Regions from separate parts of the Homo sapiens genome. Here all the other regions are linked to region 1. The links are contacts of gene promoters, found by promoter capture Hi-C in blood cells and fetal thymus (Javierre and others, 2016). All regions are on one chromosome and are shown on one strand. The core of a region is centred on a gene start or on the middle of the fragment in contact, and the rest is flanking DNA. Distances in the headings are between cores, read along the strand shown.

Region 1 (4,729 bases), core at 1,092-3,591:
GATGGGTTGGAATTCCCCAACTTCTACAGGTAGAAAGGTAAGCATTGTTTTCTGGTGTGTGTGTGTGTTTTGTTTTTGTTTTTTTTTTTTTAACCAAATTAGTGTGAGTTATCTATATTCCCAAAACTGGAAAAGAAATTAAATTTTAAGTAACTAATACAAAAATCATTCCCCACAACTGCACAACATTAAAGTTAAACTTTGCCTTTAACATTTCCTTGAATCCTGAAATCCACACCTTTTATAGAATGCGCTGCTAATAAAGATCAATCTGTAAGTATTCAAATTTGTTGGAGACTATATAAACAAGGTCAAAGAAGACTTGCAAATATCAGATAGACTAGATCGACTAAATACTACAGCAATATAACAATAGGAATGAAAAAGTTGCCAAATAATATAAACATGTAACTACAGACTTACAAGGAAATCATAGAAACTACTGGTCACTCCCTAACTTCATTCAGCTGCTCATTTGTCATCTCTCAGAGGCCTACCCTGACTACCCCATCTAAAATAGCTGCCCCTATCACACGCTATTCCTGAACTCTGACTTATTTCTTCCTCACAGCAGTTGCCACTATAAGCCATTATATTCTATAGGCGCATTTGCTGGACTGTTTGCCTCTCCACTAAAACATAAACTCCATGAGGGCAGAAGCTTGGTCGGTTTTCTTTCAACACAGGGCCTAGACACACAGCTGGCACTCAATACACAGGTGCTGAATAAAATACATGATAAAACTGAAACCCAGAGAGGTTAAAGGATTTCCTCAAGGTCACAGAGCTAGCAACAAACACAGCCCTTACTATAACCTTGTCTACTACAGCCTTGTGTGTTCGCTCTTTCCACAGCCACTTCCACTACACCAGAGCCTGTTCCAGCACATGATTCTATTTAACAGATTTCTCCTCTTCTTTTTTTTCTTAAGCGCCAAATACATGTTACCAAAAAAAGTGACACACTGGGTAGCATTTTAAACTCAAGTGTTTTGCCAACTAAAACTATACTCAAATTTCATAAGTATACAGGCTTAGCCCGTAAAACAGAAAGGCACAACTATTCATAGTTCTTTAAGTTCCTTTTGAAATTGGTGTGTATGCCCTGGAAGTTTTAAGAACAACCACTGAAAACCTATTCACCAATTCTGAATGGCTTGTAAAGTATCAGCCTCACTTTCATTCTTTTCAGAGCCCACAGTTATCTCCTCCCTGGATATACTTTATCTTGCAGATTATGCAAGGCAATGTAACTAACTTCAAAGTCCCTTTAGTTCCTTTTAAAGCACAAGAAAATCTCCCAAAACACTGAACATAAAATTAACCCTTGGGAAGTTTCAGATTCTGAGAACAGGAACCACCTCTTAACCATTCTCTCTGACTGCGATCATCTAGGTCCTTCATTCAAAATGCATTAATTGGAAATACCTAAAAGAAACGTGGGAGGGGGCCGGGGGGTCGGAAGAAAGTGGAGAACAGACATTTACATATATAAAAAAAGGGATCTGATATATGAATAACACTTTTGCCCAACGTCAACTTCTCGCCTCGACTCAAGGCCTGACACAACTTCTGTTGTCTTCTTGATCACCTTCCTTGAAGAGAGGGGCCAAAGCCGGCACGTTCTGCGGAGACTGTCTCTAGACCTAGGAAGGGGCACACCAGGGCAGCGGACGATTTGCTCCGCGTCTCTCAAAACTACTGCCAGCCCAATTAGTAAACCGAGAGGGCAGCCCTGAGATGCAGGATGGCCAGAGAGTTGAAATGAGTCTGGGAGTTAAGAGTGGGATGGGGCGGACGAACAGGCGTGGGGAGGGTAAACAACGCACCAGGAGCGGGAGTGAGAACAGGGTCGAGGTGGGGTCAGCGAAAGGCAAAAGGCGAAGAGAAGAAGGGGACGGGGCTCCGGGTGGGATGGGCGGCAGCAAAGGGGGAGGGGACGCGAGAAGGCTGGGGGAGGGGGAGAAGGGTCCGGGGCGGGGCGGAAGGGAGCAAAGAGGCGGGATGAAGACGGCCAGGCCGGGAGGGTCTTTACCTGCAGCTCCGCCCGCTCCACCTCCCACTGGGCTCTCTCCACCTCGAAGCGGGCCCACTCGTGCTGCAGGAAGTGCAGGATCCCCGGGAGACTGTACTGGGCTCGGGCCGCCCCCGCCGCAGCCGCCCCGTCGCCGGCCGCGGCAGCCTCCGCCAGAGGCCCGAGCCCCTTGGCACCGCCGGCGCCCGGGTGGTTGTTGCTGAAGAAGACGCCGGGACCCGCCTGCTCGTCCATGGCGGCCGCAGATACCCGGGGAGCTGCCCCGGCGCCCAGCAGCGGAGGCAACAGCGGCGGCAAGCAGCGCCTCCTCCTCCCTCCGCCGCTCCCGCCCACACCCCAGTCAGCAGGGAGCAGCCTCCTGGGCGCGGGGGCCGGCCGAGCCCGTGACGGGCCGGGAAATGGGTCAACTGCGGCGCGCTGGCGGCCCGGGGCTTGCCGGGAAATGTAGTCGCGGGGCGGGGCGCGGGCTAGCGCGGCCCGGGCGGCCTGTAGGGCTGTGCCTCAGCTTGGGCGTGGCCTCGGGCCCGCCCCGCCCCGGCTCGCCGCGTAGGGGGCCGGCTGGGCGGGGAGAGCGGGTTTCCTCTGGGGCCGGCTGGGCGCGGGCGGGCGGGTCTCCAGTCTTCCTCGCACGCGGAAGTTCGCGGGCGGCGCACCCTGTTGCATTCAAAAACACACACACACACACACACACACACACACGGAAGTTGTCACGCCAAGATACCTGCCCGAGCTGCACATCTTTTAAGGCTTCCTGGCCGTTCTGTGAAGGAACAGGCTCAAAGCGAGCTACCCGGTGCGGCCGCGGGACCGGGGTTCTCCCGCCAGCTGCCCTGCGTGCTCTCGCTTCGGCTTCGTGTTCGGAGTTTCTCTCACCCTAGACGCTCCTCCATTCTGCCAATCTGCGGGTCGCTGTCGCTCTTGCCTTTCTCTTTTGACTCGAGGGGCTCAAACCTGTTACCTGACCAGTTTTCATTTCTAAGGAACGCCGATCACCTTTCTAAGACAACGCCGCAGCTTTCTGCTGCTGCTTCCAAATTGTGGTTTGTTGACAGCCCATCTGAAAAACTGCTCCGTTGAAGTTTCTTTCCCTTTGCAGTCCTCCTGCAGTAAATCCTGTAAAAGTTTTAGCATCCAATAATAGATGTTCTGTTATTTCGGTCTCATTTTTCCTATCTTATTCCCGCTGATTTTTACTCTACTTAATTGAACAAATATTTTGATTATCGGTTTTCTCTTGCGCTGGGAATATTAAGATAAATGACATCGTTTCTGTCATCAAAGATTGGCGTATAATCAAATATCACAAAGGCTTAATTTAAAAGCTACACCACCTTGAAAAAGCAAGTTCCCTTTCTGCTCCCTAGCGCGGTCTTAGATATCCTGGCCCCTCTCCGTTTTCACTTGTCCTGTTCCCAGTTTCTTTCACGATTCACCTGCCAACTGGCAACAGCATCCGCCTACCAAAGGTACACCAAAGTCCTTTCAAGTTACTCTCTGTAAATATTTGCCTTCTCCGAAGTCTGACAATATGTCACTATAAATTCACACTACAACAGTGGCAAAAAGGAAGGCCCCTGAAAACAATTTAACAAATGCAAATGAAATTAAGCACTTATTTTGTCACCCTAACAAGTTATCTGAAATTCTTACGTTTTGTAGGACGTACTTGTGGGTTATCAGACTTGATGGCCATGAAAAAATGTAAAGATCTAGGCTGCTGAGTGACATGTCAGGGAAAGACATCCTGTCCCTGTCCTCTCTCCCCTCCCCCCCTTTCCCATGGCTACTTGCAGAAAGGACAGGAAACACATTGTGTCTGCTCTGGTTGCAAATAAAGATGGAGAACTCTCTTCTCTCGCTTAATTAATGTTTCTGCTTTATGAATTCATTCTTTATTATCATCAAAGATTGATCCAGGCCTGGCCAAATTCCCTGTGCCATAACTTATTTTGGCTGTCAGTGTCCTTTGAGATACAGCCCAGTCTTCTCATTTACAGCTCAAGGAACTAAATTCCAAAAAAATTGAGACTTGTCAACAATGAGGCCTTGAGTGAGACGACATATCCGACAATTCCTTTAAGTCAATTCATAGCAGACACAAAATGTAATTAAATGTATAGATAATCTGGACTACCACACATATACAAAAACTATTTTAATTCGTAGTTCAACTTTATTACTCACAATACTTTTTTTGCTTTACGAGGACTCATTTACATTTTGGCCAGGCGCCATGGCTCACGCCTGTAATCCCAGCACTTTGGGAGGCCGAGGCGGGTAGATCACTGGAGCCTGGGAGTTGTGGGCAGGAGGCAGGAGAATAGGGTCTGGAGGCAGGGAACGTAAAGTAGATTCAGGCTGACTACCTAGAACTGAATCAAATGGAAATACTTCAGCTATAACAGGAAATGTCCTCTCCACTTACATAGGGCGCACACCAACTAAATGACGTTGTAACTTTACTTCATCCTCTTCATTTACATAGGGCGCACACCAAGTAACCAGTGGAAACCTCTAGAGGGTATTCAAACCCCAGAAAATTCTGTAACGGGACTCTTGATCCCCTATGCTCGGGCCTGCCCCTGCACTGTGGAGCCTACTTTCATTTTCAACAAATCTCTGTTTTTGTTGCTTCATTCTTTCCTTGCTTTGTGCGCTTTCCCCAATTCTTTGTTCAAGATTTCAACAACCTGG
Region 2 (4,729 bases), core at 922-3,421, 4.6 Mb before region 1:
GCTACAGTTATGAAAATCAGATATTCATCCAGACTTTACTATGACAAAGATTCTTTGGCCAAACTTTAGTCAGACTTCTGAATCTTCTGCTAGGTCCATCCGTGCACTTCCTTGTAAAGTCTAGTTTTAGCAGAAAACTGAGCTAAGTCAGTTTAGCAAGAACCCCTCTTCCTCCATATCTGATCAGGCTCCTCATCCTCCACCATCTCCCAGGTGATGTCTGATCACTGTGGCCTGTCTTCAGCAAGAATCCTGTTAGATTGATTTGGCCAGAGTTTCACTTACCCCTGAGGTTTCCTCTTAGTAATTTTCTATCTACTGACCCCCTACATTGTTCCTTGGTGAATCAGATTCCTGAACCATTGCTCAAGACAAATGTCTGCCAAAGCTGGTAAGAACAGATGTGGATTCTTAAGGTATCAGTATACTCTGGCTGGGTTTGGTGGCTTGCACCTGTAATTCCAGCTACTTAGGAGGCTGAGGCAGGAGGATCGCTTGAGCCCAGGAGTTTGAGGCTGCAGTGAGCTATGATCATGCCACTGACTCTGGCCTAGGTGACACGGTAAGACGCTGTCTCTTAAAATAAGGAAAAAAAACGCCGGGCGCGGTGGCTCACGCCTGTAATCCCAGCACTTTGGGAGGCCGAGGCGGGTGGATCACGAGATCAGGAGATCGAGACCATCCTGGCTAACACAGTGAAACCCCATTTCTACTAAAAATACAAAAAATTAGCCGGGCGTAGTGGCTGGTGCCTATAATCCCAGCTACTCGGGAGGCTGAGGCAGGAGAATAGCGTGAACCCGGGAGGCGGAGCCTGCAGTGATCCGCGATCGCGCCACTGCACTCCAGCCTGGGCGACTGAGCGGGACTTCGTCTCAAAAAAAAAAGGAAAGAAAAGTATATTCTCTGAAACTGTGTTACAGTCCCAGGCTTCTTTTGAAAGGTACCTTCTGGGCTGGATGTTCTTTCTGGCTCTCTGTGAAGCCTCTGTATTCTCTCTATTGGATCTTGCTTCTCCCATGGGAAATTCTGTCACCTGAAACCCTTCTTCTCTGAAACCAGAAATCCCTACTGATTATAACCTTTGCCAACTTTGTCCACCACTGCCAGATCCTTTCCCTTCTCACTCCAGCCCCACAGTCACTTGCACTTTAGGCTCCCTACCCTCCACTGGGGGCTCTGAAGGGACTGAGAGGACCCTCCAAATCAATCACTTGAGGCTGAAAAGAGAGAAAAAAATGAGACTGTTTTGAAACAGGGCAAATAAAAAAAAAAGTAAAAAGAATTTTCCACAAATATTGGTAAAAAGCTTTAGCCCTTACTAAGTAGGTAAACTCAACTTGTCCCATTTTCTTTTTTTTTTTTTTTTCTGAGGCAGATTGTCGCTCTGTCGCCCAGGCTGGAGTGCAGTGGCACGATCTCTGCTCACTGCAACCTCCGCCTTCAGGGTTCAAGTGATTCTCCTGCCTCTGCCTCCCTAGTAGCTGGGACTACAGGTGCCCGCCACCAGGCCCGGCTCATTTTTTTCTATTTTTAGTAGAGATGGGCTTTCACTATGTTGGCCAGGCTAGTCAAAGTGCTAGGATTACAGGTATGAGTCACCGCACCCGGCCAAGTATTCCTATTTTTATGGCAATATAGTTATTTGCATAATTTCTATAAAAATGTGTTCTCCTGTAACAAGACATAATTGGAGGCACTGGTTGTATTAACCAGGTTTTGACTGGAATGTCATATTTTCAAACATGACCAGATGGCATTAAGGAGCTATGGTTGACTTTATGGAGCCAATAAAGTCTTCGTTTGAAAAACTGGCCTGATTGTTCCCAGACTTACAGGTGAGTGGCCTGAGTGGCCGGGCGCGGGGGCTCACACCTGTAATCCCAGCACTTTGGGAGGCCGAGGCAGGTGGATCACGAGATCAGGAGTTCAATACCAACCTGGCCAAGATGGTGAAACCCCATCTCTACTAAAAATACAAAAAAAAAAAAAAAAAAAAATTAGCCAGGCGTGGTGGCAGGTGCCTGTAATCCCAGCTATTCAGGAGGCTGAGGCCGAGAATTGCTTGAATCCAAGAGGCAGAAGTTGTAGTGAGCTGAGATCACGCCACTGCACTCCAGCCTGGGCGACGGAGTGAGACTCCGTCTCAATAAACAAACAAAAACAAACAAAAAAGCCAAAAAAAAAAAAAAAAAAGAACCACAGATGAGTAAGGAATGTCACTCTCTGGCAGGCCCAGGAACTTCAGTGTATTTTAGGGACCCCCAAGAAGAGAGGAATACAGTCAAATCTCTAAGTGTTTCAGATGTAGCCTGATGGCTAATAGTTTAAGATGTAGTTCAGGTAATCCATGAAGATTTCCTGAAGGAAGTTCGCATGAATGTGAGAGGGCAATTAACTTTTATAATTTTTATTGAGCACGTAGTATATACTTGTCAGATGCTCTTCTACACATTTTACAAATGATTCTTAATCCTCACAACAGATCTTTGATTAGGTTTTTAAGGAAAACTAGTTCTTTCCAAAATAACCTAATGATCACAAAACATATAGAACATACAACTCTGCATCTTGACTATGGTGCGTAGGTCTACATGTGATAAAATGACATTGAACTATACACACATCATACAACTATCAAATCCCTCCTTTTGAGATTGTACTAGAATTATGTAATATGCAACCATTGGGGGAAACTGGGTAAAGAGTAAATTGGATCTCTCTGTACTATCTTTGAGTAGTGTTTAGGTATTTTATAAAAATAATGTCCTACAGTTTGGGTTTGTCAAATGGTTTTCTCATAGTTAGATAGGGGTTATGGCTTTTGGAGAGAAAGACCACAGAGGTCTGTAGTATATTTTCAACTGTAATCTATTTCAAAATAAAAAGTTTTAAAAAAATTCTCCAAGGGGGGATGATTAGTAAATTGATTAGTCCTTTCTAGACCTCCAACACACCCCACCACACACTCACACAGACCCACACTCCTATTAATTCCGGTAACTCGGGTTGTTTGGAATGTGGATAGAGAAACTAAGCTTAACTATGCGCTTCCAGCACCTCGTATCTGGTACTTCTGTTCAACAGAAAGCCTTGGGAATGGGGAGGGCAGGCGTGGTAAAAGGTACAGGTTTGGGAAGGTCGCTCGGTTCCTTCCAATCCAAACGAGAGGCTTCTGATTGTTTATTCTCACACCAGAGCCGTGACCGAGACCCAGAGGTCCGCTTCCGGCCACGGCCGAACAGCTGCACCGTGCGTACCGGGAACGGTCAAGGCGCAGCTGGAACCGCTGCAAAAGGCCTCCGGGCGTACCGGACAGGTCGCAAGGGCGGGGGTCCCCACCTAGCGGAAATGCACGGAGGCCAACCCCTCCCCCTGCCCCCGCGAGGAGCGGGGCGGACTCGGCAGCCGCCACTCCCCAGGCTCACAGGAAGAAACTGGGACGCTGCGGACGCGGAACTGGCCAGACCCGCGGCGCGTGGCACGCGCGAGCCCTCCCGCGCATGCTCCACCCGCCGGCCTCCAGCCCGCGCCCCGGGCCCCGCCTCCCTCCCTGCTTCTCCCCCTCTCCCGTCAGCCTCCCTCCGAGTTTGGCCCCTCCGGCCGGGCGATCGACGTTCCGCGTGCGTGCGGGCGCCTGACTTCACTTCCGGCTAACGCGCTCGGCTTGCCCCCTGGCCCCGGATGGTGACTGGTGGTGGTGCTGCACCTCCCGGGACTGTCACTGAGCCGCTTCCCAGTGTGATTGTGCTGAGCGCAGGCCGGAAGATGGCGGCTGCGGCTGCGGCGGCCTCGGGCCCCGGCTGCTCCTCGGCGGCGGGGGCGGGGGCGGCCGGGGTCTCAGAGTGGCTGGTGCTGCGGGACGGCTGCATGCACTGCGACGCCGACGGGCTGCACAGCCTGTCCTACCACCCTGCGCTCAACGCCATCCTGGCCGTCACTAGCCGCGGGACCATCAAAGTCATCGACGGCACCTCGGGGGCCACACTGCAGGCCTCCGCGCTCAGTGGTGAGTCTTCCGCACGCCGGGCGGGCGCGAAGCCGGGGAAAGAAGCCGTCCAGCCCCGGGGCTCGGCCTCGCGACTCGGGGAAGCGAGATGGCGAGAGGGCAGGGCTGGGGGTTCGGGCCCAGCCGTGAAGGGAGGCCCGGAAGCTGATGGAGGGGGACCTTAGGACTTGGCTTTTTCAGCGGCTGCAGTTGGGAGGAAAGACCGGCGAGTCAGGGAGTGGTGGGAGGGGAGTTGCCTTTCGGGCCTGGAGCGTCCGGTCTGGCTTGGTCCTCCGCGAGAGGTGAGGAGACCTTGGAGCTTGGCACCGGAGGAAGCGAGGCCCGGGTAGGCCCTGGAGAGGCTGTCGGTCCTGCGTCCGGTTAGATGAGAGCGAAAGGCTGGAAGGGTTGACCCCGGGCGGAGAGGCTGGTGGCCGGAGGCGAGGGGCGGGGAGCGTCTGAGCCGGCAACCAAGCCCTCCCTTGTGGGAGAGGAGCCGGCAGTCTGCTGTTCTCAGGTCCCGCAGTGCGGGGGACAGACCGCGGGCTGTGCGCCCAGCGTGGGGGTGGGGGTGGGGTGGGGGTGGGGTGGGTCGTGGTGGGGGTGGGGAGGGAAGTAGGCGGGCCAGCTGCCTGAACTGCTTGGTCGACGACTGTAGGACTCTGCGGACGCCGAAGACGACTAGACCTGGTCCCCTTGCTCGGGGCTTCCAACTTCTACGCCCCAGTGACGAGAAAGTCA
Region 3 (4,729 bases), core at 1,480-3,979, 4.4 Mb before region 1:
TTAAAAACATTAAAATCAAACCCAGTATGTTCTGTGACCACATCAGAATTAAATTGGAAACCAATAGCGGTAAGATCTAGAAAACCTCAAATATGTGTAACCTAAGCAGTATAGTTTTTAGTAACACATGGATGAAAGAAGAAATCACAATAGATACTACAAGATATTTCAAAACGATAATGCCAACATGACATGGGATATAGCTACAGCAGTCTATAGAGAGATTTTATAGCTTTAAATGCATATAATTAAAAGAGGAGATTTATCAGTGGTGTACACTGCCACCTCAAGAAACTAGAAAAACAGGAGTACAATTAACCAAAAATCAGAAGCAAGGAATTACTACAGTAAGAGCCAGAATCAATTAAATATAAAACAAAAAAATCAAAGAGAAACAAGAAAGTCGTACATTTTGTCTTTTGAGACTTCTAGTAAAATTGATAAACTATGAAAAATTTTCAAGAAAAAGGGAAAACCACACAAATTGGACATCCACAAATGATAGCAAGCACATTATTATAATTTCTATAGAATAAAATAAGGTACTATTATAACCAACTTTATGCCAACATATTTGATACTTAGATATAATGGATAAATTCCTTGAAAAACACAACCAGAATCAGTAGAAGAAGTGCATGTATACGTTTGTATGTATACACTTATGCAGAATTGTAATCAAACATACAGAATTTTTAGTCTGTTTTCATTTTTAAGTACCATGGTTATGATTTTGAAATCACATTAATCCCATGTTTCTCCAATTTAAACTGAAACTCATTTTTTGTTCTTAAATTGGAGCATTTGACTACTTTAGAAAGTATCATGTCTTCTCAGTTTGCTGTGACATATAATGAGTATCAGAATTAAAGACATCACATGGTTGGAATATCGTAATTCCTAAAAGCCTGTGATATAAATCATATCCTGTTCATCTAATTTAAAATAATTTATTTGTGTTTTAGACATTATTCAAAGTGAGCACGTCCTTATTAGAGTCTTTTCTTTGGGAAATTGAGCTGTTTTATCCTAGTATATCAGAAATAAAATTTCTTTGTTGTTAATTGAGCAAAAAGCATGTTTTCATATACTTTTCAGTTTTGACTTTCAAAATGTGAAATAATACAAGTGAATATAATACTTTAAAAAATTAAATCCACTTAATATTAATACCCTAAAACAGTTCTGTTTGAATCGTTATACTTGTGACATTTATGTAAATATCAGTTTATATTCTACTGTTTGGTGCTTTTGCTGAACCTGTATTTTGAAATTAATCTTTGTTGATGCCTAAGCCTGTGGTGGTCTCATTTGTATAGCTCTAGCATACTTGCTGTATATTTAACTATACCTTATTGTGTGTATTAGTCTTAATGTTGACTAGCATTTTTATTTCCAGTTGTTAGCTATAATGAAAAAAGTTGTGAAGAATTGTATACATATCTAATATAAGACTTAAAAATTTGTATCTGTATAATGGGTGATGGGAAATATATGATAGTGGTTTTAATTTGCTCTTCTGATTTTCGTGAAGTTGAGGGTCTTTCACTTGTTAAAGAATTTGAATGCTATAAATTGAGAGCTCTTTGATTTTGCTGTCTTTTTGCTTTCATTGTATTTGTTTTGTTTTGTGGCATCATATGAGAATAGTCCTTTAAGAAAACAATTATGATGAGGTAAAGTTCTGCTTCTGTAACAATGTTCTATTATATAGGTACTTTTATATGAAACTATCTTCTGTGCAGCATAAAATAATAAATATAGAGGATCTTTAAAAATTTGCCTATAAAGGGTTTCAAAATGGTTTAGAAGTGAAAAGTGCCTCAAATTCCTATGTTCTTACAATTAGGCTATTTCATATTGTCATTCTGGCCTAAGCTTCAGTAGTGAAAATAAGCTGGCATCAAAATTGCACCTGTTTTATTCAGTGTACAGATGCATGTAGTGTAGCCGTAGATCAACTTAAGACTGATCTAAGCTGTAGATCAGCTTAAGACTTCTACATATATATGTAAAAGAAGGAAGAAATAGTGAACTAATCACAGAGTTACCTCACCATTCATTTAAAAATCACCCCACAGAGTTACCTATCAGTCTACTAAAGTCATACAGGAAGCTTAGGAATCATCCTGATGTTTGAAGTGAATAGTGAGATAACTCTGTGATTAGCTCACTATTCATTTAATTATATGTTTGAGTGTGGAACTTCAAATTAGTATTTAGTGAAGTGCATTATTCATGGTCAAGCAAGATAAGTAGAGTATTTCTAAATGCAATGAGAAGTTTGTAGGGCAACCATGCTCAGAATTGGAGTTTTTCTTTGAATTATTAAGATTAAATTATAGACATGATGCTCCTTTATTCCTAAGTTCAGAAAACTTCTCTTGGATAACCATATACAGTTATACAAATCAGAAGTTCACACTGACTCTGTACTATAAACTGCAAATCTTATTCAGCTTTTGCCTGTCCTTCTAATGTTCTTTAGGGCCAAAGAAAAATCAATTTTCTTTTGCGTGGTTTGAGGATACTGGTAGTTCAGGATCATATATTGCATTTTGTTGTCTTGTAGTCTTGCATATGTAACAATTCTGCTATCTTTATTTATCTTTCATGGCCTTCATGGCCTTGACAGTTTTGAAGAATACATGCTAGAAATTATGTCTATATATATATATATATTTACACATGTATACATACATGTATTTTCTAGGTATGTTTGCTGATAGGACCCAGAAGCAGACTCCCCCTAGTGATATATGCATATATATCTCCCATATTGTCATTTTAAAAATTTTCTACTAAAGGAAATCAGGGCTCCTTGGAGAAATTCTAGTACTGAGGAAGAGTAGGTAGAACATGAGCCTAGAATGTTTTGCTGTGCTAGAAAGCAAGGAAGTGCTCAAAGAACGATGGGGGACAAGTTATAAGGAAGTAGGATCCTGCTTTAATGGCGTCTCAGAGACAAAATCTTATTCCCCTCAGGCATCAAAATTAATAATGATAGTAACAGTGTAATAAAGTTAGAATCTATACTGATAAAAATTAATGGATAAGAAGAGAATATTTTTCCTTATAGCTTGGTGCCAACTAATAAATGTAGAAAGAATGACAGAATTAGAAAGTTCTCCTTTTCTTAACCACTTTAGTAATAATTGTTTCAGGCACAATTATAAAAATGCTAAGACTGATCAAAAGTTTGGTGAGAAATAAGATGTTTAAATAGTCTCAAGAATCTGCATATAGATACTTAACTAATTATAAAGGTGGAATTAATAACTAATGTAGAGACACTTGGCAGACACTGCCATACTTCTGCTGTCATGTGCGTCTTGATGTTTGGAAGCTTGTTTTTATTTTTATTTATTTTTTTGAGATAGTTTTGTTGCCCAGGCTGGAGTGCGGTGGTGTGATCTTGGCTCACTGTGCCTTCCACCTCCTGGGTTCAAGTGTTTCTCCTGCCTCAGCCTCCTGAGTAGCTGGGACTACAGGTGTGCACCACCACACCTGGCTAATTTCTGTATTTTTAGTAGAGACGGTGTTTCACCGTGTTGGCCAGGCTGGTCTCGAGTTCCTGACCTCAAGTAATCCACCTGCCTCAGCCTCCCAAAGTGCTGGGATAACAGGCGTGAGCCACTGCGCCCGGCTGGAAGCTTGTTTTTTAAAGCAAGCAGCTTTATTAATCCTTATAATCCTATATTTTAAAGAGATCATTTAAAGTTAAGTCTTTACTTTGAATCTGATGTTGAAAATGTGAATGGCCAAGCCAACACTTTTCTTTTTCTTTAGGTGAGTGCTCCAGTTGTAACATCTACCACTCAGGAAAAGCCGAAGGATAGCGATCAGTTTGAATGGGTGACCATTGAACAGTCAGGGGAGTTAGTTTATGAAGCACCAGAAACTGTTGCGGCTGAACCTCCACCTATCAAGTCAGCAGTACAGACCATGTCTCCCATACCTGCCCATTCTTTGGCTGCTTTTGGATTATTTCTTCGTCTTCCGGGCTATGCGGAAGTGCTACTGAAAGAGAGAAAACATGCCCAGTGCCTTCTTCGATTGGTATTGGGAGTGACAGATGATGGAGAAGGAAGTAAGTGTTTAGTATTAAATTTATCAACACATATGTGAATAGGTTGTGTAAAGGTATCCAGATCATTGCCTATTATTCATCATTTATTTCCTTCATAGTTAAGCTGTTAGATGATTTGTAAGTGGTAGCTCACTTCCAGTATTAGTTATACATAATAAATCCTAAAGAATCTTCATTTTCATCTCTGTGTTCATTCAAAAATTATTTTCCTTGTGCTGACAAAACTGTTGGGCATCACTGGGGGGATGTAAACATGAAGCAGTTATTTAGAGCTACCCCCAAGTAGCTAATGTTCTCCAGTAATAGAAACAAGGGATGTACATAAACATGTATACTTAGCAAGTTATAAAATCCCTTCAGTACTCTTGAGTGCAGTATTATGGAGAAACACACATGTGAGATTATTTCTTTACTACTCAGCAATGTGAATGAAGTGGCATGGTAGTTTTTAGTGGGGCCTTGAAGGACAGATTAGATTTAGGTTGGGATGAGTTATCTCAGAAAATAAATGGAAAGAGCAGTGTTTTGAGGTTAAAATGTATGAGAGGGGATAAGTTAGCAGATGAAAATTTGCACAAAAGGGAGCATTGTGAGCATTTTAAAAGCTAATATTGGTAACAGATCATGGAAAAAACGTAC
Region 4 (4,729 bases), core at 1,472-3,971, 4.4 Mb before region 1:
TAATCCTGCATCCCTTCCTAATCCCCAGACCTCTGGTAACCACTGTTCTTTGTACTGTCTCCATAGTTGTGCCTTTTTCAGAATGTCATATAGTTGTAATCATAAGATCTAGCCTTTTAGATTGGCTTCTTTCATTTAATAATATACATTTAAGTTTTGTCCATGTGTTTTCATGGCTTGGTGGCTGCTTCCTTTTTTATCGCTGAAAAATATTCCATTGTATGAACATGTAAGTGTTTATTCATTCACCTTTTGAAGAACATCTTGATTGCTTCCTTTTTTTGGCATTTATGAATAGATCTGCTATAAACATTCACATACAGATTTTTATTCCCAGTTTTGTTTCACTGATCTATTTGTTTATTCTTTCGTGAGTACCACATTGTCTTAATTGTCGCAGCATTATAGTCAGGTGGTCAAGTCATATAGTGTCAGTCCTCTGACTTTGTTCTTCAATGTTGTGCTGGCTATGCTACGTATTTTGCCTTTCCATAGAAACTTAATCATTTGATTGATAGCCACAAAATAACTTGCTGGGGTTTTGGTTGGAACAATGTGTCCTCTGTTCTGTTTCTCTTTGTATGTTACATGAAGAGGGTTGAGAACGGTGAAATACTATGTGCACTACTTTGCTAAATGAGTTTATAAAGCAGTGCAAATGGTAATCTTTGGGTACCTGGCTATATTTTTATCAGTATAAATTCTGATTTTTCAAATATTTCGATGTAGACAGGGAAATCATTCAAAACTGTGGATTCCATTCCAGCAGATGTAGCTAAAATGGGGGGGCAGGAGAAAACTGTGGAATAGGGAAGGTTTTTTCTAAGGCTTCATTATTGTGCCAGTCTCAAGTTGAAAAGAGGCTACATGATTGTACATTCAAGTCTTATGTTTTCCTATATTTGAAAAATAAAAACATTTATAAAATATATGCAATGTTTACTGGGTGCTTTTCCTCGTATTAGTGTTTTAAAGCAATTGAAGAAAATAAATATTTCAGTATAAAAAGGAGCAAATGTATATGAATAAGTACTTAAGAGAAAAAAATTTTAGTGACAGCTTTAATGGTTGATAATTCGGTACCCTTCAGTTCACCCATTTAAAGTATACAATTCATTGATTTTTATTATAGTCACAAATGTGTACAACTGTTACCAAAGTGAATTTGATAATTTTTTTTTTTCACCTCATAAAGAACCCTGTACCCTTGGCCAGGCACATTTGCTCATGCCTGTAATCCCAGCACTTTGGGAGGCCCAGGTGGGCGGATCACTTGAGGTCAGGAGTTCGAGACCAGCCTGGCCAACATGGTGAACCTTGTCTCTACTAAAAATAAAAAAATGAGCCGAGTGTGGTGGTGGGCGCCTGTAATCCCAGCTACTTGGGAGGCTAAGACAGGAGAATCGCTTGAACCCGGGAGGCGGAGGTTGCAGTGAGCTGAGACTGTGCCATTGCACTCCAGCCTGGGCAACAAGAGTGAAACTCTGTCTCAAAAAACAAAAAACAAACAAACCCTGTACCCTTTAGTTATCATCTTCCATCCCCTCATCTTCTCTAGCACTAAGCGGCTGATAATCTACTTTCTATCCTTATATAGAGTTGCCTTTTCTGAATATTTTATGTAAATTGGATCATATAATATGTGGTCTTTTTAAATTGGCTTTTTCCATGCAGCAAAATGTTTTCAGGGTTTATTGATGTTGAATGTATCAGTAGTTGATAACTTCTTCGGGCTGAACAACATTCCATTTTATGGCTGTGTACTACATTTTGCTTTTCCATCAGTTGATGTCTATTTGTTTTTGCATTTTGGCAGTTGCAAAAATGTTGCAGTGAGCATTAGCATACAAATATCTATTGGTGTTTCTGCTTTGAATTCCTTTGGTAATATACCTAGGATGGAATTGTTGAGTTACATGGATTACCTGACTTTTAAAATTACAATAATCTTACTGGGTGTGAGATGGTATCTCATTGTGGTTTTAATTTGCATTTCTTTGATGACTAAGTATGTTAAGCATATTTTCATGTGTTCATTGACTATTCACCTATCCTTTCCAGAGAAATATCTTTTCAAATTCTCTGCCCCATGAGTGGGGGCTGGCTAGAAGAGGGGATTGAATGTCAACTTCTTAGCCATGTGTACCTTCTAACTTAGCAGCAGGAGGTTGCTGTGGTAGGATGGGAAATGCTGACATCCTGCCCCTCACCCCGCTAGGAAGGCAGGCTTTCAGCTCTGTACTAAGGCATAGCTTTCCAACTTGGACCTCTGGGAGAGGGAGGCCTGTGTTCTTGGCTGTAGCCAGCTAGAGTGGTTTTTCTTTCTCATTGAGCTGAGGGTGGGGAAGAAAGGAGCAGCATCTTGATTCACATACCACAGACTCTTGCTTTTCTTACTGAGTTTTAGTACATTTTCTTGAATAAACGTTTCTTCATTTGCTGCATACTGTTAGGACCACTTCCAGAGATTTTAGATAGTTGTGTTCTTTTAAAGAGTATGTACCAGTTTCACTGGGGATCTGATCTGCAGGGATCTTCCCTCTCATGCTAGCAAGAAAAATTGAGTTCTCATAAACCAAGTAAAATATTCAAGCTTTCCTACTAATTAAATGTTTTAGAACCTTACAGTGGAATATTTTGTATCCATCAAGTTCTTGAAAGTAGAAACCATCTATCTTGATATTGGGTAGAAAGAGGAAGTTAGACACTATGGAGTATCTAGTTTTTATAAAATTCAACACATACCTAAATATACAATATCATGTACTTCTCCCCTATAAGACATATTTTATTAATTAAATTACATCAGGTTTTTCTTAAGTATTCTGTTCTCCACATTTTAAAATTCAAAAGCTTTAAGGTGGTATCTAATAAATAGCTGTTTTCCTGCCTCTGTCCTACCAATAACAGCTCATTAGGGATAAACTATAGTTATCCCTATAGTACTAATCTAACTAATAGTACTAATAGTTACAGATAGTACTAACCAGTGCTACTAATTTCTTATATTTCTTTATAGGAAATCTATGTATAACAAGTAAATATAAATACATATTAGTTCATTGTCACACTGCTATAAAGAACTGCCTGAGACTGGGTGAATTATAAAGGAAAGAGGTTTAATTGACTTATAGTTCTGCAGGGCTGGGGAGGCCTCAGGAGACTTACAATCATGGCAGAAGGGGAAGCAAACATGTCCTTCTTCACATGGCAGCAGCAAGGAAAAGTGCAGAGCAACGCAGTGAGAGCCCCTTATAAAACCATCATATCTCGTGAGAACTCACTATTATGAGGACAGCATGGAGGTAACCACCCCCATGATTCAGTTACCTCCCACTGGGTTCCTCCCATGACACATGGGGGTTATGAGAACTACAATGCATGATGAGTTTTGGGTGGAGACACAGCCAAACCATATCACATAGTCTCCCTCTTTTTATGTTTTTGTTATTTGTGTTTTGTTTTATGTTTACCCAAATAATCATTTATTTTTTATTAACATTTATGGGTTATGTTTACCATATAACCCATTTTTATACCTTACTGTCCTATCCCCACCCCAAAATGACATTATAGTACTTGCGAATTTGCTCCAGTACAGCATAAAGCATATTCTAATTTTTTATGGCTACATAATGGGCATTTAGTAATTAAAACAGTTGCATATTAATAAACATAAATAGGTTCTTTTTTGAGATAAGGTCTCACTCTATGTCCCAGGCTAGAGTGCAGTGGTGTAATCATGACTAACTGCAGCTTCCCATGCCCGGCTAATTTTTTAAATTTTATACAGACAGGATCTTGCCCAGGCTTGGAGTACAGTGGTGTGATTATGGCTCACTGCAGCCTCGACCTCCTGGACTCAAGTGATCCTGCCACTTCAGCCTCATGAGTAGCTGAGACTACTGGCGGGCACTACCACACCTGGCTAATTTTTAAAATTTTGTGTAGAGATTGGGTCTTTCTGTATTGCCTAGGCTGGTCTTGAGCTCCTGGGCTCTAGCGATGCTTCTGCCCCAGCCTTCCAAATCCTGGGATTATAGGCATGAGCCACTGCATCCAGCTCACATATTTTTTTAATTGACATTTTTATTCTGTTGTATATGCCCATTGTAAATATGATATACCTGTTTATTGAGACTATCATCTCTGTCCTGCAGCATAGATATTTTCATCATAAGTTTTTTTGTGTATTTTTGTTGTATTTCCTATTGTGCAGTTTCTCTATTTTACAGTTGATTGTTATATAAAATTAACAGTATTCATTTATGTGAATTTTGCATCCACATACTTTAGTATTCTAATAGTATTTCTGTGGATTTACCGTATTTTCCAAATAGAGAATCAGTTTTCTGAGAATGAAGACATTACTCTTTTCCCACTTCTTTTTTTGTTTGTTTGTTTTGAAACAGAGTCTCTGTTACCCAGGCTAGAGTACAGTGGCATGATCTTGGCTCACTGCAACCTCTGCCTCCAGGGTTCAAGCGATTCACCTGCCTCAGCCTCCCGATTAGCTGGGATTACAGGCGCACACCACCACACCTGGCTGTTTTTGTATTTTTAGTAGAGACTGGGTTTTGCCATGTTGGCTAGGCTGGTCTTGAACTCCTGATCTCAGGTGATCCACCTGCCTCGGCCTCCCACACTGCTGGGATTACAGGCGTGAGCCACCACACCTGGTCTACCCACTTCTTATGCTTTTTTAAAAAAATGTTTTTCTTTTGGGGAA
Region 5 (4,729 bases), core at 1,434-3,933, 4.3 Mb before region 1:
GAATCCTTATCTCAGGCAAAACGTTGGGTGGGCACTGAGGTGATAATGGTCTGGAAAAGCTTTCTAAGTGCAGACTAATTCTTGAAGGATGAGGATAAAGAAGTTAGCCAGGCAGAAACAAGATAATCCAGACACAGGAGAGCAAAAGGAGAGCTCAGGTTGATGGCACCATATTGGATGTTACTGGATTTTTAACAGGCAAAGTGAGGATAGTCAAAAGGGATGGGAGGCAGTGGTTTTGGAAAGAGAGGAGGGGTCAGTTCATCCCAGGCCTTTGCTTGCCCTGTTAAGGAACTTTGACTTCCTGTAGGTAAAGGAGAGCTCACAAGTAGCTCTAAGGAAGTAACCTGATTAGTCTATTTCAGGAAGATCATTCTGCAACCTGTTGAGAAGCGAGGAGATCAGTTAAAAGCCTGCTCACATCCAAGCAATAGGTCATAAACTAGGGCACATAAACTGTGGAGATTAAGAGACAATTGACAGGACTTTGGGAAATACATATATTTGTTAGGAGAATAACTTTAGCATGTTTTCAGGCTAGGGAGCCAGGGGAGAAGTCCTTGGGGAAGGATGGAGCAAAGCCTAACAGACATAAATGACCTGGGTCCAAGAGCACATGCGGAGAACTTGAAGAGATGTGAAAATCAGTAAAGTGAATTGGTCTATTTGTGAAACTTTTAACTATATAAAGTTTTTATCTTAATGAACAGTAAAAAAACAAAAAGTAAAACTGCTTAAATACTTTCCTAGCATTAAGACAAAAATCTCCAAAGTCAGACAAATGTAAAATGTACTGTAGGCTGGGCATGATGGCCCACACCTGTAATCCCAGCACTTTGGGAGGCTGAGGCGGAATGATTGCTTGAACTCAGGAGTTTGAGACCAGCCTGGGCAACATGGCAAAACCCCGTCTCTACAAAAAATAGCAAAATTAGCTGGGCATGGTGGCACATGCCTGTGGTCCCAGCTACTCGGGAGGCTGAGGTGGGAGGATTGCTTGAGCCCAGGACATGGAGGCTGTAGTGAGCCTAGATCACGTGACTGCACTCCACTGTGGGCAACAGCAAGACCGTGTCTTAAAAAGAAAATTAATGGATGTTTTTAACCCATCTCTTACTGTTGGACAGTTTGGAATTGCTTTTGTCTCTGCTTTTCTGATTATAACTAATGCTGTGATGAGCATGGTCTTATCTTTATTTTCTTATGATAAATCCTAGAAGTAGAATTCCTAGGTCAAAGGTTTTGATATATAATGACCGCTTTCCTGAGAGGTACTGATTCACACTTGGAAAATCTTTTAGTGTTGTCATGCGTTGGCCAGCATTGGAGATTATATAATTTTTTGATCTGATATTTTATTATCATCAAACATGTTTTAATGTGCATTGAACATTGTTTATATTACCCATTTGAATTTCTACTTTTGTCAGTTACCAGTTTATACCTTTTCCCTATTTTGTGTATTTTCTTAGAGTCTTTTAGTATGTATCAGCTACTTATAGTAGAATATTAGTTTTTGTCAAACTTCTGTGTATTTGTCCAGATGGCCTTTTAATTTTTGTTTAATTTTTCTCATAGAAGTTTTAAATTGTGGGGCCGGCCGGGTGCAATGGCTCACTCCTGTAATCCCAGCACTTTGGGAGGCTGAGGTGGGTGGATCATGAGGTCAAGAGATCGATACCATCCTGGCCAACATGGTGAAACCCCATCTCTACTAAAAACACAAAAATTAGCTGGGCGTGGTGGCAGGCGCCTGTAGTCCCAGCTACTTGGGAGGCTGAGGCAGGAGATTTGCTTGAACCCAGGAGGCAGAGGTTGCAGTGAGCCCAGATCGCACCACTGCACTCCAGCCTGGTGACAGAGCGAGACTCCGTCTCAAAAAAAAAAAATTTAAATCGTGAAGTCATCTATTGATCTGTTCCTTTCTGATTTTAATTGCATTTTATTCCTTTGAAGTTATTCCCTATGCAAAGGCAAAAAAAAGGCTATATATTTTCTAACTGAGATTGATTTTTGGTATTGTTACAGGCTTCGCTGCAACTGAATTGCAACAGGCTTGAGCTGCTTCCCATCTCGCACCCTGCAGAGGCAGGTATGGTGGTGACAAGCCAGAGTCCACATGTGGATGGAAGATACAAGCCATGTTGAAAGGAAGCTCCATCCTGCTTTCTCTTTCCTCTTCAAACTCTGCCCAGTTTCTAGCAGCCATCCAAGCCTCCTTTCTCTCAGCTTCTAGCCTCCTGATGCTTCAAGCTCTAAAGGGGCTGACGTGAACCCTGTGAGCCTATACATTTCCTGTATAGAAGAGGCATTCTCTGGCCTTCTTTCTCCCTTAGTTCCTGGATGTGATCTCGTAGTGCTCCCATGAGCTCCACCAAAAGTCTGCTTTCCATTGCTTCCTTCATGTGTGTCCCTCTTCAGGTTGCACTAGCTGTTTTCCTGTGCAGGAAGAGACTGCAGCCCACCACCATTTTAATTGTTTTCAGTTTTATTCACGTCTCACTTCTCCAGGGAGGGAATACCCAGTCCAATTATGTCAGCTGCAGGCTGCCCTGGGCCGCTGGGAGACCTACGGCCTCAGGTTAGACACTTCTGCCTGCTGGGGTCCCCAGGATACTGCCCCTCCCCACCTCCCTGTACTCCTCTGGGTCAAAAGGTAGACAGGCATTTCCCTCGTTCTTATTCCTACCACTTCTGTTCCTTGCTGTTGCTTTCCCCCAGCCTTTCTATAGGTTTTGTTCTTTGGTTTATTCCTTCCCTTTTTCACCTTGCTGTCTGCAAAGTCAGCAAATGCAGCCATAGAGTGCCTTCCAGCTCTGGAGCTTTTCTCATCTTTAGAGGAACCAGCTAGAGCTCCTCTGTGCCGCCTTTCTGGGAGCTGCTATTTTTGTTATTGCCCTTCTTGCCAGATAAGTATGAGATTTCCCAAGCCTGGCCAATTTTCAAATATTTGTCCTGTTGGGTTTTTTTTTTTCTTCTCTTTTTATAAGACTTTGTCAGAATTTTTTGATATAAATTCACAAATGAGAAAAAATATTTTTTCAAGCCCAAATCACTCATATGTTAGTTTTGGTTTAAAAAAAAAAAAAATCTTCCCCCTGGTTGTCTCCATACCCCAAAGGTAGCAGTTACTTCCTGAAGCAAGGCAAATACTTCCTTTGACCCAAAGGGCAAAGTTAATCTCCCAAAGGAGTTTAGCAAGGGAGAGCTTAGAAAGGCCTGAAGCTCACCTACCCTTAGGTGTCATTTGTAAATGCCTCTTTACCAAGGAAAGATAGTGCCTTAACTTGTTCTGAGCACTTGTACCTGCTCTGCAATGTGCTGGATTCTTGGGATAAAATGTCATGTAAGAGTCTGACCCTACCCCCAGGAAGCTGTCAGTCTAATGAAATAAATAAATAATATTCATCATTTCAATTGTATTTTGGGAGTCTTCCAGTTATCACCAATTTCAGTCTCTGAGCCGAAGCGATCACCTTAGATTGTGAGCCAAGGAAGGACAGATCCCTGAGAAGACTTCATGCAGCTCTAGGAAAAGCCTATACTCTTCAATCATCTGGCTTCTGATTTCGCAATGAGAAAACTATACCCTCGTCTGCCTCAAACGAGGAACCCCTAATACTTAGCTAAGAATTGCTAACATTTTTTGGTATCTATGTCCTAGACCCTATGTTTAGTACTTGATAACTTAATCTCTATCAGTTGGTCTCAATTTGCCAACTGCTAGGGAAAAAGCATCACACTATGGAGATACGGAAGCATACCAACTACCCCTCCCTTCAATCAGCCTGCCCTTGCTTCTAGCAGGTGACCCCCACCTCACCCCATCTTCTATTTTTCTTTTCTTTCTTTCTTTTTTTTTTTTTGACAGTCTTGCTCTGTTGCCCAGGCTGGAGTGCAGTGGTGGGATCTCGGCTCACTGCAAGCTCCACCTCCCGGGTTCACGCCATTCTTCTGCCTCAGCCTCCCAAGTAGCTGGGACTACAGGCACCCACCACCACGCCTGGCTACTTTTTTGTATTTTTAATAGAGGTGGGGTTTCACCATGTTAACCAGGATGGTCTCCATCTCCTGACCTCGTGATCCGCCCGTCCCGGCCACCTGAAGTGCTAGGATTACAGGTGTGAGCCACCGCGCCCAGTCCTCAGTATACTCAAACAATAGTTCCCCTCTTCTGTTAGTATCTGTTAGCACCTATGAGACTTAAGATGTAAAACTTTTTTTTTTCTGAGACAGAGCCTCGGCTCTGTCGCCCAGGCTGGAGTGCAGTGGCATGATTTCAGCTCACTGCAACCCCTGCCTCCCGGCTTCAAGCGATTCTCATGCCTGAGCCTCCCTCCCGAGTAGCTGGGATTATAGGTGTGCACCACCACACCCAGCTGGGTCTTGCTTTGTCGCCCATGCTGGAGTGCAGTGGTGCAATCTCGGCTCATTGCAACCTCCACCTCCCGGGTTCAAGCAATCCTCCCACCTCAGCCTCCCTAGTAGCTGGGATTACAGGCGTGTGTCATCACGTGCAGCTAATTTTTTTATTAGAGACGGCGTTTCACCATCTTGGCCAGGCTGGTCTCAAACTTCTGACCTCAGGTGATCCGCCCGCCTTGGCCTCACAAAGTGCTGGGATTACAGAAGTGAGCCACCACACCCAGCCATGTGTTTGAACTAATTCTGTCTCCTATCTTTTTAAGTGGTGAAAGGGAGGCTGGATTTGTCATTAGCTCAAGCATAA
Region 6 (4,729 bases), core at 1,225-3,724, 3.4 Mb before region 1:
GAGCTTGCAGTTAGCCGAGATCGCACTACTGCACTCCAGCCTGGGCGACAGAGCAAGACTCCGTATCAAAAAAAAAAAAAAAAAAAGATAATATAATGTTGAGAACTACAGGTATGTTAGAGAAATGACAGTTCTCAAACCCTTTAAAATATGATTATAGGTTTATACAGTATATGCAACAAAATGAAAACAAATCATACATAAAAAAATGAGATCACATGTAGTCTGGCATCTAGATTTATAAACTATGTATTATTAGACACTGAAATCAAAAGACTAGGCCTAGAAGTTTCTCCTTGAGTTTCACATTTAGACTTCATTAGTTTATTCAACAAGTAGTTACTGAATTCCTACTGTGTGCCAGGTAAGAGATAAAAGATGACTATTTGCCAGGATCAGTGGCATACACCTGTAGTCCCAGCTACTCCGGAGCCTGAAGTGGGAGGATCGCTTGAGGCTAGGAGTTCGAGACCAGCCTGGTCACCAGAGCAAGACCTCATCTCTTAATAAATAAATAAATAGAAAAGGTAGTCATTTAATTCTAATATTTCTCAGTTAATCCTTTAAAAGTACATTTCAGTTAATTAAGGCTGACTTTTAATATTTGAATGCCACCAAACTAAGTAGTTAAGGTTAAAATTTATAACAGTTTTCAGAAAATCCATGGTTTACATTACACTCTATGTCAAGTAGTTATGTGATTACAATTACTACAGTAACAATTACTTGTACAGTACCCAAAAGAATAAAAAGTTAAAAAAAGGAGGGGGAAAAAAAAAGACAATAATGGGAAGAAACAGCATCCGTGGCCAATTCTTAAGTGACCACTATCCATGCAGAAAGACTACATTTAATAAGGTCTACCCCCTTCCTTTCATTCCACTCATTCCACTACAGTACTATAGTGTCATTTATTCCAGAAAGAAGCTTCTAGGATTTCATTTCCTTTCCCAGTAAAGGGACCCTCCTCAGGGCTCCTCACAGCATATTTTCCCAGTATCCTGTGAACCCCTCTTCCACCTCACCTTGTACTCTAAGGGCCTAACACTGCCACAAAGAAACTGTTCCTAAAAAAGTCCTAATGAATGAATGGTTTCATGTGTGAACAAGCGATTCAGTCTGAGATGTCAACTAAAGAGACTATTTTGCTGAATGACTTTAACATATGCCCTAATGAAAGAAAGAAGCCCCCTAAAGTCTGGAATATTTATAAAAATTCAGAGCAAGTTTCCAAGAAAAGAACAATAGTATTTCACTGTGACAAAGACAGATGATAAGCAAGACTACTTCGTTCCTAAAAATTTCTACTAGGGTAGTAAATTATTCAAATAGGCAGACTTTGGGAATCCTCAAGGTGTTTTTTCCTAAAGAAAGGTTTCTCTCAAAGGTTTCCTTGTCATGGAAAAACCTAAGAGAAAATTTTGATAAAGAACTTGTTACTTAGAAATACAGCTAGCTAAATCTGTACTTTGTTTTGATACCGTACCTGTAGGTAAGTATCTAACCATACAATTTGTTTCTGGAACCACATTTAGCCCAAGAGGGTCCACGTTCTCAAGTTTAATAGAGTACACTGATCTGGGTGACCCAGTGAGATAACAAACCCTATTTCCAGCTTCTAGATACTGATGAATTATGGTTGAATAAATATCAGGAGAAGGAGAGACACAATGCAAAACAAATACGCAGGTTCTTCGTGGGTGAAGACGACCCTGGTCTAATGGGGCTCAACGAGGCAGAGTATCACAGAGTCAAAGCAAACTGCTGGTGGTTCCCAGGGACGTGGTGATAGGTTAGATGCACAAGCGAGCTGGCCAGCGGAACAGATGCAGCGCCCATACAAGTGGCTTAGCGAAGCCTGGGTGCATGCAGAGATGACTGGGCAAAGGAGAAATTTTGAGAGAAGTGGGGTGGGGTAGGAGGAGGGGCTCAAGATGGGAGTAGGAAATTTGGAGAACAAGTAGGAAAGCAGAATCAACTTTGGCAACCTTTAGAGTTGAGGGGTTAAGGGGTAGGGCAGGAGGATGAAGCGAGGAGAGAAGCTCGGGGAGTGGGGGTGGCGAAAATCAGAGCCCAGACAATGACACGCATGACTGACAAACGCTGCGGGTAGCTCGCCTGCAGGGAGCACTGGGCAGGCCTAGGGGTGTTGGGATTGGAGGACCCCGAGCTAGCAGTGCAGACAGTGGACGTGGCATTGGGGGTGCCGGGGCCAAAGGGAAGCGACAGCCAGGAGCCACGGGGTGCGGCGTGGAGAGGCAGGTGTCTCAGACTGGGGCGCAGGAGGTGTTCCCAGGGGGCCGGCAGCGTGGGGCTTGGGAGACCCGTGCCCTGACAATCTTACCCTAGATCTTCCAACGACTCCAAGATGTCAGTCTCCATGAGGTCACACTCCATGCTACTGTGGTATTCAAATTTCCGAGTCGTCAGGCTCCCCTCTTCGCCGGCAACGCGTACACTCGCGCATGCGCGACTTCCCCGGAACTTCCAAATCCACAGCTGGCGCCTCAGCTCCCGCACTGCGCATGTCCGGAGCGTGCGCAAGAAACTTGGTCCCACTGACCGCCCCACCCCTGCCCACTAAAGAATTACAGGGCCCGCAGTTTTGCACATGCGCGTTACTGGATCGTGAAGCTAGCCGCCCAGAGAAGGGTAGGAGGACCGGCTGCGTGGCAGCTGGGCGTGGGGACCACGCGAAGGGGAGCGCTCTCGGCTCTCGTTATTGGGTGTACGCATGTGCGAATGTAGGGGGCGCGGCGGGCCGGGAAGGAGCTTGGAAGAGTCTCGGGACGCGGGTGGAGTCGGCTGTTAAACCGAGTCTCTGCATCCCAGACAGGAGATCGGGTGGCTCTTCGTAGGGTGCCGGCATGTGCTAGCCTTAGCTTGCAGGTCATGTAGAAAGGGAGAATTCTTGCGCTCCCGTCTTCAGGACGCGGGTGCGGGCCAAGTGCAGACGGCAGATAGCGTGCCATTTGATTTCCTCGTGGCTGCAGTAGCTTTATTTCAGGGTTAGGGATGAGCCAACTTTCCGCAGACTATGGATGTTCAGAAAGTTGGGTCGTTTTCCCTCATGCATTCTCTACCTGATGTCTAAAGCCCTTCCCAGACACTAAGCATGTTATTTTAAGGAGAAGGGGAGCTTCACTCCATAGCAAATAGAATAGAATATTTTTAAATCCACGTAGTTTAGACAGTGAATAAACTTTTTGGCTGTACTGTCATTACTTTTGACATTATTTGCCCGGGTGAAACATTGAGTTCACGATGTGGATGTGTTGTGATATCTTGGCAGTTACTGAGGGTGTGTTTAGAAATTACTGAAAAATCAGAAATGTTTTCAAAGTGATGGCATATTTAGAAAACTATATTTAACCATAAGTTGGCGTACTGTTAAATCGTGTAGGCATTTAATTAAAGAGTTTTCATATTGATACCTGTTGATTTTATTCTATAGTTCTCAAGCATTTTTGTGTCTGATGGATAGATGTTCCTATCCTTAGTAGTACCTTTTTCTTTTCTTTCTTTTTTTTTTTTTTTTTTTATGAGACGGAGTCTTGCTCTGTCGCTCAGGCTGGAGTGCAGTGGTGCGATCTCGGCTCACTGCAAGCTCCGCCTCCCGGGTTCACGCCATTATTCTGCCTCAGCCTCCCAAGTAGCTGGGACCACAGGCGTTCACCACCACACCCAGCTAATTTTTTGTATTTTTAGTAGAGACGGGGTTTCACCATGTTAGCCAGGATGGTCTCGATCTCCTGACCTTGTGGTCCGCCCACCTTGGCCTCCCAAAGTGCTGGGATTACAGGCGTGAGCCACCGCGCCCGGCCAGTAGTACCTTTTTCAGTTTCCTTATTTTGCATCATCTGAAGTGGGGGTAGGTTTTCTGCACTTACCATGGGCACTTGATATGGCCCATTATGATGCAGTCACCATAAGGCTGTGTGAATATTAGTCACATTCTACAGATGAGGACACTAAGGCTGAGTGGCTTAATAATCTTCAGCGATCTTAATGCCTGTAAGTATGAAACTAGATTTTGAGATTGAGGTATATCTAAATCCATATTCCTTCTTTTTTGACTAGTCAAATAAGGATTTATACGCAGGATGTGAAAAGAGGAAAATTTAGCTAGTTGAATTTGTTTAAACTTGTATATATTGTACATAATTACCTTATAATAATTGAATAATTATTTTCCTCATAGGGTTGTTGAAGGTGCTAAACAAAAAGTCATGCCTAATACAAAAATCAATTTTGAAAGAAAAAGGGTTTCATTCTTGACTCACTTTTGATGTAAGCTGTGTTCAATATTGAACTAATATTGAATATAATATTGTGTTCAATATTAGTGAATGAACGAGTGATGACTTCCCTAAAAGTATTAGTATTCCCTTTCTTTCTTTAAAAAAAATCCAGCTTTTGCAGGAATAGTATTCTCTTTCTAATTCACATCGTTAGCTTAAATGAAGGATTGCTGATATGAAATTTTTATATATTATGGTTTAAAGGAATTCTACAATGGCTTTCTCTGCAATTAAAAAAAGCTTTTAAATACTACTTAAACAAAATTGTGTTCCCTACCAGGCAGGCTCAGAAAGAAAGAAAAAAAATTGTCATCATTTTAATGGGATCTACGAGGAATCTTTTGCATTTTATTTAGAAATTATTTATGTTTATAATGGAACCTGATATCTGAAGACCTCTTTGAAACTGAGTTTACTAGAATGAAAGG

What was found. The method cuts DNA at HindIII sites, captures the fragments that hold promoters and counts their contacts. A CHiCAGO score of 5 or more calls a contact.
Region 2: a fragment that was not itself captured here is called in contact with the fragment with the promoter of STRN in region 1 in 1 of 17 cell types (M0 macrophages); the score reaches 5.6 in M0 macrophages.
Region 3: a contact is called between a fragment that was not itself captured here and the fragment with the promoter of STRN in region 1, in 1 of 17 cell types (M2 macrophages). The highest score is 6.4, in M2 macrophages.
Region 4: a fragment that was not itself captured here is called in contact with the fragment with the promoter of STRN in region 1 in 1 of 17 cell types (M0 macrophages); the score reaches 5.5 in M0 macrophages.
Region 5: a fragment that was not itself captured here is called in contact with the fragment with the promoter of STRN in region 1 in 2 of 17 cell types (M2 macrophages and M0 macrophages); the score reaches 6.3 in M2 macrophages.
Region 6: a contact is called between the fragment with the promoter of FAM98A here and the fragment with the promoter of STRN in region 1, in 1 of 17 cell types (non-activated CD4 T cells). The highest score is 7.4, in non-activated CD4 T cells.

Annotation. Positions count from the first base shown.
Region 1 is chr2:36,964,195-36,968,923 of GRCh38, forward strand. STRN (striatin) reads right to left here and starts at 2,342. Exons shown (of 18, transcript NM_003162.4): 1 at 2,036-2,342. The coding sequence starts at 2,269. RefSeq lists a silencer at 2,023-2,832. The HindIII fragment of the contact is 8,803 bases long and covers 660-4,729 here.
Region 2 is chr2:32,353,478-32,358,206 of GRCh38, forward strand. BIRC6 (baculoviral IAP repeat containing 6) reads left to right here and starts at 3,546. Exons shown (of 74, transcript NM_016252.4): 1 at 3,546-4,009. The coding sequence starts at 3,685. RefSeq lists enhancers at 3,217-3,729, 4,244-4,729 and silencers at 3,233-3,602, 3,763-3,992. The HindIII fragment of the contact is 1,729 bases long and covers 1,308-3,036 here.
Region 3 is chr2:32,539,452-32,544,180 of GRCh38, forward strand. BIRC6 (baculoviral IAP repeat containing 6) reads left to right here. Exons shown (of 74, transcript NM_016252.4): 62 at 3,790-4,090. Among named protein-coding and RNA genes, the nearest start is that of MIR558, 9.7 kb to the left of the region's middle. The HindIII fragment of the contact is 1,230 bases long and covers 2,115-3,344 here.
Region 4 is chr2:32,562,588-32,567,316 of GRCh38, forward strand. The region is part of intron 65 of BIRC6 (baculoviral IAP repeat containing 6); the gene reads left to right. All of the region lies in intron 1 of BIRC6-AS2 (BIRC6 antisense RNA 2), which reads right to left. Among named protein-coding and RNA genes, the nearest start is that of BIRC6-AS2, 9.9 kb to the right of the region's middle. The HindIII fragment of the contact is 260 bases long and covers 2,592-2,851 here.
Region 5 is chr2:32,619,941-32,624,669 of GRCh38, forward strand. No RefSeq gene overlaps it. Among named protein-coding and RNA genes, the nearest start is that of TTC27, 5.7 kb to the right of the region's middle. The HindIII fragment of the contact is 5,253 bases long and covers 58-4,729 here.
Region 6 is chr2:33,596,825-33,601,553 of GRCh38, forward strand. FAM98A (family with sequence similarity 98 member A) reads right to left here and starts at 2,475. Exons shown (of 8, transcript NM_015475.5): 1 at 2,345-2,475. The coding sequence starts at 2,397. LOC105374455 (a long non-coding RNA gene) reads left to right here and starts at 2,521. Exons shown (of 3, transcript XR_939942.3): 1 at 2,521-4,014. RefSeq lists enhancers at 1,729-1,918, 2,469-2,538, 2,569-2,618, 2,759-2,988. The HindIII fragment of the contact is 3,614 bases long and covers 926-4,539 here.